Linked DNA regions of Homo sapiens: regions 1, 2, 3, 4 and 6 are each linked to region 5. The links are contacts of gene promoters, found by promoter capture Hi-C in blood cells and fetal thymus (Javierre and others, 2016). All regions are on one chromosome and are shown on one strand. The core of a region is centred on a gene start or on the middle of the fragment in contact, and the rest is flanking DNA. Distances in the headings are between cores, read along the strand shown. Region 1 overlaps HHAT (hedgehog acyltransferase). Region 2 overlaps HHAT (hedgehog acyltransferase). Region 3 overlaps HHAT (hedgehog acyltransferase). Region 4 overlaps HHAT (hedgehog acyltransferase). Region 5 holds the start of UTP25 (UTP25 small subunit processome component). Region 6 overlaps HHAT (hedgehog acyltransferase).

Region 1 (2,700 bases), core at 139-2,638, 520 kb after region 5:
CTTTGTTACTTGGAACATTTGGAATCATTTAATTTGCTGAATTTTAGGACCTAACTTTCCTATACCTTCTCTATTACTTAGAGTATAGTCATGGCTGCCATGATGGAGAGATCTAGAATAGGAGAGGCTTAAACAACCTAGAAATGCATTTCTCTTTCCTGTAACAGTCTAGATCTAAGTAGTCTGGGGCACTTTGGGGCTTGGGGGTGGTACCTGGATTTGGGGACTGAGAGGCCTCTGTCTTGTCCATGTGGCTTTCACCTCTTCATCCACGGAGGCTGTTCCAATTCTGTTCAACAGGAAAGGGAGGGAAAGAAAGAGATGGCCACAGCCATGTCCCTTCACTCACACCCTTTTGAATGGAGCTATTCAGGTGTCCACACTTAGCTACAGTGTAGTGTTGGTGTCCAGAGGAAATTTTAATTGATGTGTAAGAAGAGAGACTGAATTCTGAAAAGGGGTAGTGAGGGGCGGTGGGTAACAAGCAGTGTCTGTCACAGATGTCTGTGATTATGTCATTAACTGCCCTTTAAGAAATGTACAGATGAGGCCTGGCACAGTGGCTTGTGCCTATAAACCCAGCTACTCAGGAGGCTGAGGTGGGAGGATCACTTGAGGCCAGGAAATCAAGATCAGCCTGGGAAACATAGACCCTGTCTCCAAAAATACATAAATAAAGTGCATAGATGCATGGCAGACAGCTGATTTTAAGTTTTTATTTTATTATTGCTTTTAGAGAGGGGATCTGGCTATGTTGCCCAGGCTGGTCTCGAACTCCTGGCCTCAAGTGATCCTCCCATCTTGGCCTCCCAAAGTGTTAGGATTACAGGCATGAGCCACCATGCCTGGCCTATAGTATGATACTTGAAAGGGACAACAAGGATGGTGAACCTGTTGATTTAGAGGTTTGTATACTGTTTGTGCTTTTCAGACTTTTTGAAGCCATTTATTATTCACAGAGCACCTGGTAGTCCCTTCTTGCTACATCCCAGGCACTGTGCTAGGGGCTGGTGAGTCAGAGATCATGGTCCCTGCTATCTGAGGGTCCACTCCACAGAAGAGACAGGCATATTATGCAATGGGTAGAGAACTGTCTGATGTATACTCTGATGGGAGACTGTGGGAACTCCTAGGAAAAGACCTGACCCCTTTGACAGGCAGGATGCACATGTGTGGTGTATGTGTGCGTGTGTGTGTGTGTGTGTGTGTGTGTTGGATGCAGGATGGAGTAAGTTCACAGGGAGGAGGAAGCTTGATTGGGGTTATGTCTGTATCACCTTGAATAGTGATGGGTCTCCGGGAGTGTGAACTAACTGAATTGATGTTTAGATGCTGTTCTCTAGTGTCATGTTCATGGCTTAAAGTTTTGTCTCTGTTTCTCAGAAACTCTCAGCGTAGGCATCGGGAACCTTCGTGCCAAGGAGCCATGCTGCCCCGATGGGAACTGGCACTTTACCTACTTGCCTCACTAGGCTTCCACTTCTATTCCTTCTATGAAGTTTACAAAGTCTCCAGAGGTAAGGCCCCAAGCTTTTCAGACCTCCTATCAAACAAGGAAACTCCTGTCAAAAAAAGGAGCAGAGGTGGAAGATTCAAGAAGATGATCCAATAGTGTCAAGATGATGTGGGCCTTGATTTGCTTCCCCATGTCTTGGATAGTTTGAATCAGTGACCTGAGTCCATTGAGTTTTCTACCCTAAACCTAGGTCTTTTAGGTGATGCTGTGGCTTGTCTTCTATAATTGGTGGGTTTGATTCAAAAGCTATTGAAGGCCGTGGAGGGGATTTGCGTTCAGAATTCAAAGTAAACTCTTAAATTTCTCTTTCATCATTACTCCTCTGAGACATATTAGATCTGGGTTCGTTTTGTCTTCTTCTGTCATTTTTAGTGTTGCCTTTGTCTGAGTGTTGGAGATAAATCATCATCAGGTCACATTCCAGCCCAAAGGAAGGGGAATGGGGGCCCTCCTTTATTTTAGCGGCAGTTTGGCAAGGAGCACTAGTCACTCCTGCTCACACCCAACTGGCCAGCACTGAGTCCCACGGGCACAGCTGGGAGGCTGGGAAATAGTCTTTAGGTTGGTGGCTATGTGCTACCTAAAACTTTTTTTTTTTTTTTTTGAGACCTAGTTTCGCTCTTGTCGCCCAGGCTAGAGCAATGGTACCATCTCGGCTCACTGCAACCTCTGCCTTCTGGATTCAAGCAATTGTCCTACCTCAGCCTCCTGAGTAGCTGAGATTTCAGGTGCCCACCACCACGCCTGGCTAATTTTTGTATTTTTAGTAGAGACGTGGTTTCACCATGTTGGCCAGGCTGATCTCAAACTCCTGACCTCAGGTGATCCTCCTGCCTCAGCCTCCCAAAGTGCTGGGATTACAGGCGTGAGCCACTGCACCCTGTAGCTGGGACTACAGGAGTGCACCACCATGCCTGGCTTTAAAACTACTTTTAAAAAATAAAGTATATTGAAAATGGGAGGTGTCTATTCTTACACCAATACCATAATGTCTTGATTACCGTAGCTTTACATTAAGTCTTGAAGTTGGATAGAAGTCTTCTAACTGTTATTTGTGTTGTCTATTCTGGGTCTTTTGCCTGTCTGTATAAACTTTAGAGTCAATTTGTTGATATCTACAAAATAACTTTAGCCATAAAATAAAGATGTTTATAGCAGCTTTATTCATAATTGCTAAAAATTGG
Region 2 (2,700 bases), core at 166-2,665, 560 kb after region 5:
ATTTTGCTCTTGCCTTGGGCTGGCTTAGAGGATGAGAGATTCTTCAAAGTGGTTATTTGAAAACTACTTTTATGTGAGGCAGGATTGAGACCCTCTTCACAGGTCTAGCTACCAAGGGACCTGATATACTGCCAGGAGGATCTTTCTGTCACCTGGGGGCCAGGGTATTGCCCAGAGGCCTCTGATAAATACTTCTTGCTTGCTATAGATTCCTGATGGAGGAAAAAGTCTGTGCTTGGAAATTTACCGAATAAAAGCAAGACACAACCAAAACCTGATTTGGAAGTCAACCTAGGAAAAATGTTTTGATTCTCAGAGGTTCCCGCAGGTGATAAAACTGAAGTAGAAGAGAAACAGAAACCTCTGGAGATTGAGACCAGAAAGTGAGATGCAGAAATAGGATGTCCTGTGGTTAGAGATGCGCACCTAACTTGGGCCAGTTTCTGACTCTTTCCTGAAAATTGGCGTTTCCTGGGCTTGCTCCTCACCCTGGAAGATAGGAAATCCCGACAGCATATTAACTTCTTCTTGAATATGATACTGATTTTTTTTTTGTACTCAAGTGGCTGCTGAACTGGCAAAATCCAAAATATTAGATGTTGTCAGATCTGAGTATATTTTAAAATTTCATTTAACTTTGTGAGCAGACCTAATAATAATTTTTTTTGTTCCTAAGCTAGTAATAAATATATCTACCTCAGCCCTCATTAATGGTTTTCTTTACTCCCACAAATTTCTGTTTAGTTTTTTTTTCCCCAAGAATTCAAAACTTCTGGAAATTTAACATTTTAATTCGTAACAAAGTTTTCCCATCCATGTGTAAATGACTTATTACCATAAGTCTCAGTTTTCCCGTATGTAAAATAAATAGCTTCATACCTGTTTTTCTTTACCTCTGTGAGGGGAAGATGATGTACTTTGAGGATTGTACTAAGTTAATTGCATAGTGGAAGAGTGCTAGACATTGTATTACTCATGTTTGGTCCTTGGTTCGATTAGCTTTCTAACCTGAGCAAAGGTTTTCACTGCATCTTCATTTATGGTCTTAGTGCATTTTTGTTGCTTATAAGAGAATACATAAAACTGAGTAATTTTATAAAGAAAATGAACTTATTTAGTAATTTATGAAGAAAAGGAATTTATACAGTTATGGAGGCTGGGAAGTCATAAAACTGAGTAATTTTATAAAGAAAATGAACTTATTTAGTAATTTATGAAGAAAAGGAATTTATACAGTTATGGAGGCTGGGAAGTCCAAGTCACCACATCTGGTGAGGGCCTTCTTGCTGACATCGCGGCAATCCTGAGGCAGTGCAGGAGATCACGTGGTGAGCATGATAGCTCAGGTCTCTTTTCCTCTTCTTATAAAGCCACCAGTCCCACTCCCGTGATAACTCATTAATTCATGACATGGTTTGGCTCTGTGTCCCTACCCAAATCTCATGTCAAATTGTAATCCCCACGTCTTGCAGGAGGAGCCTGGTGGGAGGTGACTGAATCATGGGGGCAGACTTCCCCCTTATTGTTCTCCTGATAGAGTTCTTATGAGATCTCGTTGTTTGAAAGTCTAGCACTCCCCACTTTGCTCATTCTCTCTTCTGCTCTGCCACGGTAAGATATGTTTGCTTCCCCTTTGCCTTCTGGCATGATTGTAAGTTTCCTGAGGCCTTCCAGTCATGCTTCCTGTTAAGTCTGTGGAAGTGTGAGTTAATTAAACCTCTTCTTCATAACTTACCTAGTCTCAGGTAGTTCTTTATAGCAGTGTGTAAACAGACTAATACAACTGATGAATGAATTAATCCATTAATGAGGGCAGAGCTCTCATGATCCAATTGCCTCTTAAAGGCTGTACCTCACAATATTGCCACATTGGGGATTAAATTTCAGCACCAGTTGTGGAGGGGACAAACATTCAAACCACAGCGGTTGTCCTCTGTAAAATAGGATCAATAAGATAGTATTAGTTTTTTTTCTCCCTTTAAAATATGATGAGCTTCATTGGTTAGACATTTCATCCTTAAAAGTAAAGATGAAACATGGAAAAGTGGGACAAAGAGAAAGCATAAAAGAAATGGTTGAAGTAAGTTTAAATATGTCAGTCATTGCAATCAACATAAGTGGATTCTCAAAAAAGATGAAGATTGTCAGACTAGATGAAAAAAAGAAAGAGAAATAGAGGAAAACAAAAACCAAAACAGAGCTCAGAGAGGCTCTTCTTAGCTAGATATCCTTAAAACAGAAGGACACATAATTTGAAAGTAAAAGGTATGAAAAGATATTCCAGGCAAATATTAAACCCCCTCTCCCTCTGACAAACTACTGGTGCAGTTTTATTAATAGCAAAGAGCATTACTAGTGACAAAGAGGGCTGCTGTTTAATAATAAAGAATTCGTTTCTTATTAGGAAGATATTAAAACTCTAAGTTTATTTGCTTCAAAATATATAAAGCAAAAAGTGATCATAAACATAAAGATAGGTCTATTATTGTAGGGAGAGATTTTTTTTCTTTCAGTAGTTTTCGGGGTACAGGTGGTTTTTGGTTACATGGATAAATTCTTCAGTGGTGATTTATGAAATTTTAGTGTACCTGTCACCCAAGCAATGTATACTGTAGCCAATATGTAGTCTTTTATTCCTCACCCCCACAACCTTTCCCTCCAAAGCCCCAAAGTCCATTATACATTCTTATGCCTTTGCGT
Region 3 (2,700 bases), core at 188-2,687, 620 kb after region 5:
TATAGATCTGTCTCTATGAGCTGGGTTAATGTGTGTCTACCCCTAGACACAGATCTGTCTCAGGGTGCTGACAGATGAGGCTCCTGACCCACAAAGCGGAGGACCCAGACCCTGGCTGAGGTGACTGTCAGTGTACAGCCACCTTGAAGGGGATGTGGCTGGATGACCAGCTGCCTCGATCAGGGACTCCCACTCGGTAGCATAACTTTCCATCTGCAATGTGGTGATAGTTTAATTTGACAGTTTATTTGGTTAGAGGTTCTTTTTTTTTTTTTTTTGAGATGAAGTCTCGTTCTGTCACTCAGCCTGTAATGCGGTAGCTCGATCTCAGTACTCACTGCAACCTCTGCCTTCCTGGTTCAAGTGATTCTCCTGGCTCAGCTGCCTGAGTAGCTGGGACTGCAGGCGCCTGCCACCATGCCTGGCTAATTTTTGTATTTTTAGTAGAGACGGGGTTTCACTATGTTGGCCAGGCTGGTCTTGAACTCCTGACCTCAGGTGATCTGCACACCTCAGTTTCCCAAAGTGTTGGGATTACAGACGTGAGCCACTGCACCCAGCAATTAAGAGATTCTTGAATGTAATTGGTATTTTGTGTGTGCATATGAGGGTTTATCAGTCTTAGCGTAATAGTTTAGGGTAGACATACTAGAAGGGGCCAGGAGGTGGCAGTAAAAGATAGCTAGTCATTTAAGCAATTCAAATTAGACCAAATTAGCCTAATATTCAGCCTCTCCAGGGCAATTTACGAAGTATTGAGATTGGAGGAGGCAGGATGGGTGTTGCTTCTAGACCAGAGAGAGAGAGTCTACCAAAGTAGCCATTCTCATCCCAGCTTTCATGATTTCCCTGAATCTTACTTTAAACTGTTTTTCATTAAATTTTCCTGTGAAATTAAAAAAATTCTCAACTTACTCTAGTTTTCAGATTTTATGTAGAACATGTTTTTATATATAGGCTGTAGGTTGGATTGTCAGTGGATTTCAGCAGTGAGGGTCTCCCAGCCCCTTAATTTCTAGATAAGGTGGACCTGACTCTCTATTCCCTAGATGGAGCGGGGCTCAGTGCTGTCCTGAGACATTTATTCCTGAACCGCTTCTGTCCCTCACCTCATGCATACATGGAATTGGTTCTGTTTGGGGATCATATCACTGTCCCCACTGAACATCACCCTGGCTCTCATGTGGCATTTGGCTATTTTTCTTAATTTGTACACACACACCATGCATGACACACACAACCACCAACAAAAATCATTTAGATGCAGCGTGTGTTAGAGGACTTTAATAAAGGTTTAGGAGACAATTCCACAAGCAGCTTAAAATTGGTGGTCGGACCTCCCGGGTCCCTCTGCCATGTCTGACACTCAGACTCTGGCCTCTGGCCATGCTGTTCTGTCTTCTCTATCTAGCTCCTTTTTCTGCCTTTTCCCCCCTTAGGAACAAAGCTCATCCTCTACTTTTTTTTTTTTTCTAAACAGACCAATCTTTCAAAAACACAAAATAAATCATATAATTTTCTTATTTGATTTCCCAGGTCTTCCTCTATAAAGTCGTGCTTCGTGGCTGACGAGTGTGACCCTTTCTGATCATGCCTTTCCCGTCGCTGAAGTTGCATCACCATTCCCGTCTACACTTTTTCCTCCCCAGCTGCGCTGGGATGGTTCATTTCTTCATGCTTTGTCTATGCCATTGCTTCAGGTTTTCTTTACCTAGTTAATTCCTCCAAAACATCTCACTTCTGAGCTGCTTCCCCTGAGTCCTCAGGTTTAGAGGGAGCCTCCCTCTGCTCCTTCATGGCTGTAATGAATTACTTTTCATTGGGAGAGAGAAGCTGAGTGTTCCAGTCCTAAACTGTTACTAATTTTGTGACACAGGGCATATTAAGGGAGGCTAGACGGGCTAGATGATTGTGAGTTATGTAAGTGCTGACCTTCCTCAAATGTAACTGTGATCATTGAAAAAGTGATGGTCATTTAATTCACATCAGTTCATCAAAGTTTCATTAGGTCTCCATAAAGAAATTTCTACTCGCTAATTCGCTCTCTAAATGTTGGGTGCCAGGTGCTGTGTCGGGCCACAGGGACAGAGAGGAAGTGGAGATTTCCAGAGGGAGGATGCATCCACAGTTCTGGAATTCGGGGGAAATATCAAAGTTAGCGATACGTATTTGGGATTCAACAGTGAGAATATGGGCTTGGCGTGGTGGCTCACCCCTGTTATCCTGCACTTTGGGAGGCCGAGGTGGTTGGATCACAAGGTCAGGAGTTCAAAGCCAGCCTGGCCAACATGGTGAACCCCATCTCTACTAAAACTACAAAAATTAGCGGGGCATGATGGTGGACGCCTGTAATTCCAGCTACTTGGGAGGCTGAGGGAGGAGAATTGCTTCAACCTGGGAGGCAGAGGTTGCAGTGAGCCAAGATTGCGCCACTGCACTCCAGCCTGGGCGACAGAGCAAGACTGCGTCTCAGGTGGGGGGGGTGGGAAACAGTGAGGATATGGCCATTAAAGCTATTGGGAAGGGTGCCAACTGGGGAAAATGTATGGAAGATCTGCATAGATCACTGGAGCCTTGGATACATCCTGCTTTTCAAACATTTCTTCTGTGAAAGGGAAGATGTTCTGAGTGCAACTTTCCTATTCTGAAGGATTAAAAAATTATTTTGTATCTTATTTTTAAAAAAATTTTTTTTGAGAT
Region 4 (2,753 bases), core at 52-2,551, 580 kb after region 5:
GCTAGGATTACAGGCTTGAGCCTGGCCTCCCTTTTCAAATTGTGCCTTTTAGGGTCTAGTAAGAATATTAGAGGCCTCTAGCAGGGTCCTGTGTCACACAGAGGCACGCTTTAAGATTATCTTCCACCTAAATCCTTAGCCAAGGGTTCTCATTCTCTTGAGTCTCATTCTGGGGAAGTGAAGGGGCAGGTTGCTTCCTGTAGGGGCCAGGTATAGACACTCTGGGTTTTATCCATGTCTTTTCCTTCCCTCTCTCTCTCTTCTTTTTTAACCCCTTCTAAAACAATAGCAATTGCTGACAGCAGGGAACTTGAAAGGGCAAATTAAAACCTCTATGTTTGGGGGAGTATTCATAGAATAGTCATTCTAGAAAAGGATAAATGTTCAGTAAGATATAGGGCAAATTTAAAAAGCCAGGAGGTTTCTGCACTTGCTGAAGGTGGCTGTGGGGAACTTCCCTTCTGTGGGGAAGGGGGCTTTAAAGGGGCAGGGGGTTAAACCAAAAAGCTTATCTTGCAGTGAAAGGGTTCTTTCAGAGAAGCCAAAAAGGAAAAGGCTGGGAGGTGGAGAAAGAAAGCTAGTTGGAAGAACTAGTAAGTAAGATTTGCTCTGAATGAATGCTTGAATGAATGCATGCATGAAATGCCTTCAGCTATAAGGATTGGAAATATTGAAATGCATGGTTCTTAGACTGGCAGGTCAATGCATAAAAATAACGTAGAGCAGGAGAATGACGCTGCACCACCAGGGGGCAGCAGTGCCCCATTGTGGAAACCAACCCCAGCGGGAAATCTTCACCCAGTATCTGCAAACTCCAAAAGATCAAATGACAATGTTAGTTTTAGGCATACACCTGGAGAATGTGTCTTCCACCCAATTTACATACACAAAATGAGGGAGGTATAGAAGCGTTGTCTTCTGCAATGTAAAGCATGTGAAATTTGCATAATTAGTCACGAACAGGTAAAAATTTGCCTCTGTGCCTTAACTTGAAGGCTATTTCTGGTGGCATTTAGAGTTTTAGGAACATGGGCCTGATTTGTTTTTCTCTCACGTTTCTGTGGAACTCGGATACCAAGTCAGCGGTGAGACAGGGATCCTGGGGGACTTAGGGAAGGGAAGGACATGGTGTTTACTTGCTTAGCCTGAAGCCTGGGGCCACTACGTCTTGAAGAGGTTGACTGGTGTGGTGTGGGCACTGGGGAGAAGAGCAGCCTTAGGGTGGTGGGCCAGGGACTCTTCCTTGCTGGGCACTGTGCTCTCCCACCTTAGAGAAGCCAGTGGTCAAATAGGGAATTTGGCATGGAGGTTGAGAGCAAAGGTCCTGGAGCCCACCCTCCAGGGTTTGAATCCCTGCTGTGCTTCGGCTTGAGAGTGCTTGCTGAGTTACTTACCTTACTTATGCCTCAGTCTTCTTATCAGTGAAATGGGAAGAATAATAGTGCCTCCCTCAGGATTGCTGTGAGGATTAAATGATTGTGTATAGGTAATGTGGTTTGACAGGTTAATACTATAAAGTGTTAATTCTTACTCTTATTATTATTTGAGACAGAGTCTGGCTCAGTTGCCCAGGCTGGAGTGCAGTGGCACAACTTTAGCTCATCGCAACCTCCACCTCCTGGTATCAAGTGATTCTTGTGCCTCAGCCTCCCAAGTAGCTGGAATTATAGGCGTGCACCAACGCACCCAGCTGATTTTTGTATTTTTAGTAGAGATGGGGTTTTACCATGTTGGCCAGGCTGGTCTTGAACTCCCGACCTCAGGTGATCCGCCCGCCTCGGCCTCCTAAAGTGCTGGGGTTACAGGTGTGAGCCACCATGCTCGGCCTCTTACTTTTATTATTGTGATGATTGGCCAGAAAGCAAGTGTAATTCTAGGGTAGTTTAGGTCAGAAGTGAGACCCTGGGTATCCAGTCTGGTAGGCAGGCACAGCAGCAGGGGACTCTGGGCCATGGCCATGCTTGGGCTCAGAAGAGGCCAGTGTGCTGGTTCCATCTATTTGAAGAGAGACCCAGGCAGCTGCTGCAGGAAAGGGATGGGGGCAGTCCAAGAGTTGCTGGGACTGGCAAGAGCTGTGCAAGGCAGTCAATGTCCCAGAAGCTTTGTTTAGTACTTGGCATGGGCTCTGGTTCTAGAGAGCACCTGGAATCATGCTAATTGTAATAAAATATACTAGGTGATCATTTAGTCTGAGCCAGGCTTTATACGTTCTAACTTAAAATGTTTGAGATGGTCTCACTCTGACACCCAGGTTGGAGTGCAATGGTGCAATCATAGCTCACTGTAGCTTTGGCCTCCCGAGCTCAAGTGATCCTCCCACCTCAGCCTCCTGAGTAGCTAGGACTATAGGTATGCATCACCACACCTGGCTAATTTTTTAAAAATACTTTTCTAGAGATGAGGTCTTGCTATGTTGCCCAGGCTGGTCTCAAACTCCTGGCCTCAAGTGATTCTCTTGCTTCGGCCTCCCAAAGTGCTGGGATTACAGGCACACACCATTGTGCCTGGCCATTCTAGCTTGTTTAATCCTCACAACCTGTGAGAGAGATACTGTCATGACCACTTTACAGACAGGGAAACAGAGGCAAAGAGAGGCTATTACAATGCAGATAGAGTGAAGGGAATCAAGACATGAGCCTTGTTGCGCTGACTTGGTGTGTGAGAGGAGTTAGAGGGGGATGGAGTGTGGCCTAGTGGACATGAAGGTCTGGAGGCTCAAGCAGGCTGAACCAAGTACCAGCCTTGGTGGCAGC
Region 5 (2,762 bases), core at 212-2,711:
ACAGTAGCACTCCAATAGCAGAGCTATTATTTTGCTTCTCATTTCTCTCATTTTGGACGCTCCTGTTTTACCGTAAATATTCAAGTGAATTCTGCGGCTTATGATTTAAGCACTCTGTTTCTATAGAACATGGTAGCATAAGTTACTATTAGGAAAAGGATCTCACCATCTTTATCCTGTGGTCTCAAGCAGCCCTGCACACTTGCAAATCCCTAGAATACTGAGTCTACTTTTATATTTTTGCTTTTTCCTGTTTATTTAGGTGTTATTTAAATACATTAAAATTCACCCATTTTAACTGTACAGTTTAACTTTTCTTATGTATACAAGGTGTAACTACTAGCATGATCAAAATGTAAGATGGTTCCTTTACCTTCAAAAGCTTTTCCATCCCCTTTTGTCCGAGTTCAGTTATGAGACACTGGATTGGGTTTCACAGCCTTTTCTAGCATTGACTGGGGTGATTTCAGTAAAGTCACTTTACCTCTCTAGATGTGTTTCTGCTGTTGTTAAATGGGGAATGCTGGAACAGATTTGTTTGCGGGGACTCTTCCAATACTTTCAGAAAATGCGAGAATAGGGTGAGGGTGGGAATCTCAGACTTGTGGGCCCCATGATTGATATAACACACACAGGCGGCAGACCCTAATGGGTAAAAGCATGTGGTTGCATCAGTTAAGGTTTTTCTCTCTTCTCTTGCTAGCGTGTTATCTTTTCTTTTCTTTTCTTCTTTTTTTTTTTTTTCGAGATGGAGTCTAGCTTTTGTCGCCCAGGCTGGAGTAGGCTGGAGTGCAGTGGAGTGATCTCGGCTCATTGCAACCTCCACCTCCCGGGTTCCAGCGATTCTCCTGCCTCACCTCCTGAGTAGCTGGGATTACAGGCGCCCGCTACCACGCCCGGCTGATTTTTGTACTTTTAGTAGAGACGGGGTTTCACCATGTTTGGCCATGCTGGTCTCGAACTCCTGACCTCAGGTGATCCGCCCATCTCGGCCTCCCAAAGTGTTGAGATTACAGGCGTGAGCCACCGCGCCCGGCCGCTAGCGTGTTATCTTTTCTAAGCATCAGTTTCCTTATCTGCAACACCAGGCTTATTAACAAGACCTATCTGTACACTGTTGTGGTGATGAAGTGAGATGTTCAGGCACCCTTAAATGTTGGTTGATATTTTTATTGCAGTATACTGTAAAGTCACTGCATTCGACTATCTCCGCTACTACACATTTACGCAGACTGATTTCCATAACCAAAACACAAGCACAAAGCTCATGCCCCCGACTCACGCAACCCGGGAAGCCCAGCTGCCCACGTTCTAGGGCTCTGAGAACACTAGTGAACGAACTCCCGTGCTTTCAAAGAGCTGCGGTAGGGGGCAGAACCGGGAACCGGATGTTCTAAGCCTGTCGTACGAGCGCGACGTAAAGCGGATCTGCTTTATGGCACCTTGCTTTCGCCGTAAAGCGCAGTCAGCGAGCCCACGTGCTTGTGTTGACTGGACAACTTCCTGGTGGAAAACCGCGACTCTTGCAAGTGGGCAAACTTGACGTTTTCGCTATGGGCAAACGCGGGAGCCGGAGCCAGAGCCAGCTACTCAACACCCTAACTAAAAAGCAGAAGAAACATCTTCGAGATTTCGGCGAGGAGCATCCCTTCTATGACAGGTCTGAAGGGGCGTGGCAGGGCTCCCCAGTCGCCAGAGATGTATCCTCGAGTTTGGTCCTCTGGTCTCCCAGATAGTGCTGCTCCGGCCTTTTCCCACTATTCCCTGGCTCCCGCTGTGCTCGGCCGGGGAGATTCTGGCGCCATCCCGCCGGGAGATGGAGTGCTTCACGGGCCTTTTTGTTGAGCCTGTAATTTCCTGCTAAGAGGCACGCCCGTTGTGTGGGGGAGGATTTTTTTTTTTTTTTTAAGACGGTGTTTCGCTCTGTCGCCCAGGCTGGAGTGCAATGGCGCGATCTTGGCTCACTGCAACCTCTGTCTCCTCCCGGGTTCAAGCGATGCTCCTGCCTCAGCCTCCCGTGTAGCTGGGATTACAGGCGCCCGCCACCAAGCCCGGCTGATTTTTTGTATTTTTAGTAGAGATGGGGTTTCACCATGTTGGCCAGGCTGGTCTTGAACTCCTGACCTCAGGTGATCCACCCACCTCGGCCTCCCAAAGTGCTGGGATTACAGGCGTGAGCCACCGCGCCCAGCTATGGGGGCGGATTTTTGTGTGGTCAGAGATCTAGGAATTTTTTGTAGACACACATATATATATGTATATATATAATTTTTTTTTTTTAAGACAGAGTCTCGCTTTGTCGCCCAGGCTGGAGTGCAGTGGCGCGATCTCAGCTCACTGCAACCTCCGTCTCCCGGGCTTAAGCGATTCTCCTGCCTCAGCTTCCCGTGTAGCTGGGATTACAGGCGCCCGCCATCACACCCGATCAATTTTTTGTATTTTTAGTTGAGACGGGGTTTCACCATGTTAGCTAGGGTGGTCTCGAACTACTGACCTCGGGTGATCTGCCCGCCTTGGCCTCCCAAAGTGCTGGAATTACAGGCGTGAACCACCGCGCTTGGCCTGTTTTTATAATTATTTTTAACTTACATAAAATGATTGTACATATTTGTGGGATACAGTGTGATATTTTGATAACAATACATGTACCCAATGTGTAATGATCAAATCCGGGTAATTAGCATATTCATCATCTCAAACATCAATTCTTTGCGTTGGGAACATTGAAAATCCGCTCTTCTAGCCATTTGAAAATATACAAT
Region 6 (2,714 bases), core at 166-2,665, 540 kb after region 5:
TTGTACTTAGTACAGAATAGATACACAATACCTGTTACTGTGGTTATTGTTACTTTTTTCTTCCATGGATGAATAATTCCTTCCTTTAGCATTAAGAATTACTGATTCTTGGTCGGGCACAGTGGCTCACGCCTGTAATCCCAGCACTTTGGGAGGCCGAGGTGGGCGGATCACCTGAGGTCAGGAGTCCACGACCAGTCTGGCCAACATGGTGAAACTCCGTCTCTACTAAAAATACAAAAATTAGCTGGATGTGGTGGCGGGTGCCTATAATCCCAACTACTTGGGAGGCTGAGGCAGGAGAATCGCTTGAACCCGGGAGGCGGAGGTTGCAGTGAGCCAAGCCTGCGCCATTGCACTCCAGCCTGGGCAACAAGAGTGAAACTCTGTCTCAAAAAAAAGAAAGAAAAAAAAAAAGAATTGCTGATTCTCCCTCTGTAGCAAGGAGGTAACGTTCTACAGAGAGACATTTACATGTAGAGGGGGACTGCTGTTGAAAGGAGCTCTCAAAATCCTAATGCATTATGAAGAGTGTTACAAGTAATCAATTCTGTTCTTTCCTGAGGACACATTTTCCCATGACAGGTTTCTGAAATTGGGGCAGACCTCTAAATAAGCTGTTCTTTCAGAAGTAAAATCAGAGAGGACTTTCCATTGCCTGTGAGGAGGCTTAGGAAGAAGAGACAGAGGCAGACGGGAGCTTGAATACGAATGACTATGAACATAGATAAAGAGGTACTTCTATAAAGACACAGTTCTTAGCTACTCATGCTTTGCCCATGAAGATTTTTAAGATTTGGCTTATTTATAAATGCCTCTGCATTTTAATACTTCAGGAAAACAACATTCCATTTTGACTCATTTAACACATGAGTTAAATGCACACCTGCTGTGTAAGCAGCTTCCAGGCCACGTGCCAGGGATGCTGTGACATTCCAGGCTCAGTCTCTGTCCTAAGTGGGCTCTGAAGTTTGGGGGAAGGTGATGATGTGACAGTGAGCTGGTGGTGCAACAGCCACTGGGGCTTGTAGAGACAGAGGGTGCAGAGAACCCCAGCGGCAGGGACTGAAGGGAGGTGATGGCTGGGAGACGGGAAAGGTAGGTGAAGGGTATAGCATGCCTGACGACCTGGATTTGAGTGAAATAAATTTGGCTTGGCTAGAAGGTTGAGTTGTGAGGAGGGCAAATGACTCAAGACAGGGAGGGGATAGATCGTAAAGGCCATGAAGTGCCATATGCGGAGTCTGGACTTTATCCAGAAGGCAGTGGTCAGTCATTGAAGGGTTTCAGGTGCCATTTGTTCTGTGGACTCTTTCTGGAGCCCTCTGACTGATTTTCCTGCCTTGCCCTGTCTCTCTCTTCTTTCTCTTCTCTCTCTGCATACACATATACACACACACACTCTTGATCTGTTAGTTTTGCAGAGCTAAACCCTTGATTCTACCTTCACCTTATTTTCTCCTAGCTTCTTCAATGACTTTTTTTTTTTTTTTTTTTTTTTTTTCCTGAATGCAGAGTCTCACTGTGTCACCCAGGCTGGAGTGCAGTGCATGATCTTGGCTCACTGCAACCTCTGCCTCCTGGGTTCAAGCGATTCTCCTGCCTCAGCCTCCCAAGTACCTGGGATTACAGGTGCCCATCACCATGCCTGGCTAATTTTTGTATTTTTAGTAGAGATGGAGTTTCACTATGTTGGCCAGGCTGGTCTTGAACTCCTGACCTCATGATCCACCCATCTTGGCCTCTCAAATTGCTGGGATTACAGGTGTGAGCCACTGCATCTGGCCTTTAAGGACCTTTTTAATGAAACAAATAATATTTCCCATGAACTACTAGATAGAAGAGAGAGAGAACAGAGCAGGGTACCTGGTGGCTAAAAATTAATAAGCAAATTTGATGTTTATCCATTCACATTGCAGATGCTATTTTTTTTTTTTTTTTTTTTTGGAGACGGAGTCTCACTCTGTCACCCAGGCTGGAGTGCAGTGACATGATCTTGGCTCACTGCAACCTCCGCCTCCCGGGTTCAAGCGATTCTCTTGCCTCAGCCTCCCGAGTAGCTGGGACTACAGGCATGTGCCACCATGCCCAGCTAAGTTTTTGTATTTGTAGTAGAGACGGGGTTTCACCGCATTAGTTAGGATGGTCTTGATCTCCTGACCTCGTGATCCACCAGCCTTGGCCTCCCAAAGTGCTGGGATTACAGGCATGAACCACCACACCTGGCTGCAGATCCTATTTTTACGTTAGGCAGAGAGCTACAATTCCTATTCCTGTTCTCACCAGGAAATCACTAACATCTTACATTTTTCCTACCTGTCCGCAAATTTACATGTCAGGAAGAAAATCTAGCATGGATGAGACTAGACAAAAGGTCATGTACTGATGGGTAAAGAGCCGGCATTCTTTGTGTTCACAAGAAGGAAGCAAACCTGACCTTCCATCACCAATCATGGGTTTCTTTTTTTTCTTATTTATTTTTTTGAGACAGAGTCTCACTCTATTGCCTGTGTTAGAGTGCAGTGGCACAACCATGGTTCACTGTAACCTCTGCCTCCCAAGTTCAAGCGATTCTCGTGCCTCAGCCTCCCAAGCAGGGCCTACAGGCATGTGCCATCATACTTGGCTAACTTTTTGTATTTTTAGTAGAGACAGGTTTTCAACATGCTGGCTAGGCTGGCCTCAAACTCCTGTCCTCAAGTGATCCACCTGCC

Evidence for each region. Contacts are between HindIII fragments. The CHiCAGO score rates a contact against its expected background, and 5 or more counts as called.
Region 1: a fragment that was not itself captured here is called in contact with the fragment with the promoter of UTP25 in region 5 in 8 of 17 cell types (naive B cells, total B cells, total CD8 T cells and 5 more); the score reaches 12.7 in naive B cells.
Region 2: a fragment that was not itself captured here is called in contact with the fragment with the promoter of UTP25 in region 5 in 1 of 17 cell types (total B cells); the score reaches 6.0 in total B cells.
Region 3: a contact is called between a fragment that was not itself captured here and the fragment with the promoter of UTP25 in region 5, in 1 of 17 cell types (fetal thymus). The highest score is 6.1, in fetal thymus.
Region 4: a fragment that was not itself captured here is called in contact with the fragment with the promoter of UTP25 in region 5 in 5 of 17 cell types (naive B cells, fetal thymus, total B cells and 2 more); the score reaches 8.7 in naive B cells.
Region 6: a fragment that was not itself captured here is called in contact with the fragment with the promoter of UTP25 in region 5 in 8 of 17 cell types (total CD4 T cells, naive B cells, fetal thymus and 5 more); the score reaches 7.1 in total CD4 T cells.

Annotation. Positions count from the first base shown.
Region 1 is chr1:210,347,550-210,350,249 of GRCh38, forward strand. HHAT (hedgehog acyltransferase) reads left to right here. Exons shown (of 12, transcript NM_018194.6): 2 at 1,384-1,517. The coding sequence starts at 1,427. Among named protein-coding and RNA genes, the nearest start is that of HHAT, 20 kb to the left of the region's middle. The HindIII fragment of the contact is 279 bases long and covers 1,250-1,528 here.
Region 2 is chr1:210,388,009-210,390,708 of GRCh38, forward strand. All of the region lies in intron 4 of HHAT (hedgehog acyltransferase), which reads left to right. Among named protein-coding and RNA genes, the nearest start is that of HHAT, 60 kb to the left of the region's middle. The HindIII fragment of the contact is 7,905 bases long and covers 1-2,700 here.
Region 3 is chr1:210,447,820-210,450,519 of GRCh38, forward strand. All of the region lies in intron 7 of HHAT (hedgehog acyltransferase), which reads left to right. Among named protein-coding and RNA genes, the nearest start is that of HHAT, 120 kb to the left of the region's middle. The HindIII fragment of the contact is 3,806 bases long and covers 1-2,700 here.
Region 4 is chr1:210,406,656-210,409,408 of GRCh38, forward strand. All of the region lies in intron 6 of HHAT (hedgehog acyltransferase), which reads left to right. Among named protein-coding and RNA genes, the nearest start is that of HHAT, 79 kb to the left of the region's middle. The HindIII fragment of the contact is 1,593 bases long and covers 506-2,098 here.
Region 5 is chr1:209,826,511-209,829,272 of GRCh38, forward strand. UTP25 (UTP25 small subunit processome component) reads left to right here and starts at 1,462. Exons shown (of 12, transcript NM_014388.7): 1 at 1,462-1,660. The coding sequence starts at 1,554. RefSeq lists an enhancer at 1,502-1,551. The HindIII fragment of the contact is 3,327 bases long and covers 381-2,762 here.
Region 6 is chr1:210,368,686-210,371,399 of GRCh38, forward strand. All of the region lies in intron 3 of HHAT (hedgehog acyltransferase), which reads left to right. Among named protein-coding and RNA genes, the nearest start is that of HHAT, 41 kb to the left of the region's middle. The HindIII fragment of the contact is 4,942 bases long and covers 1-2,714 here.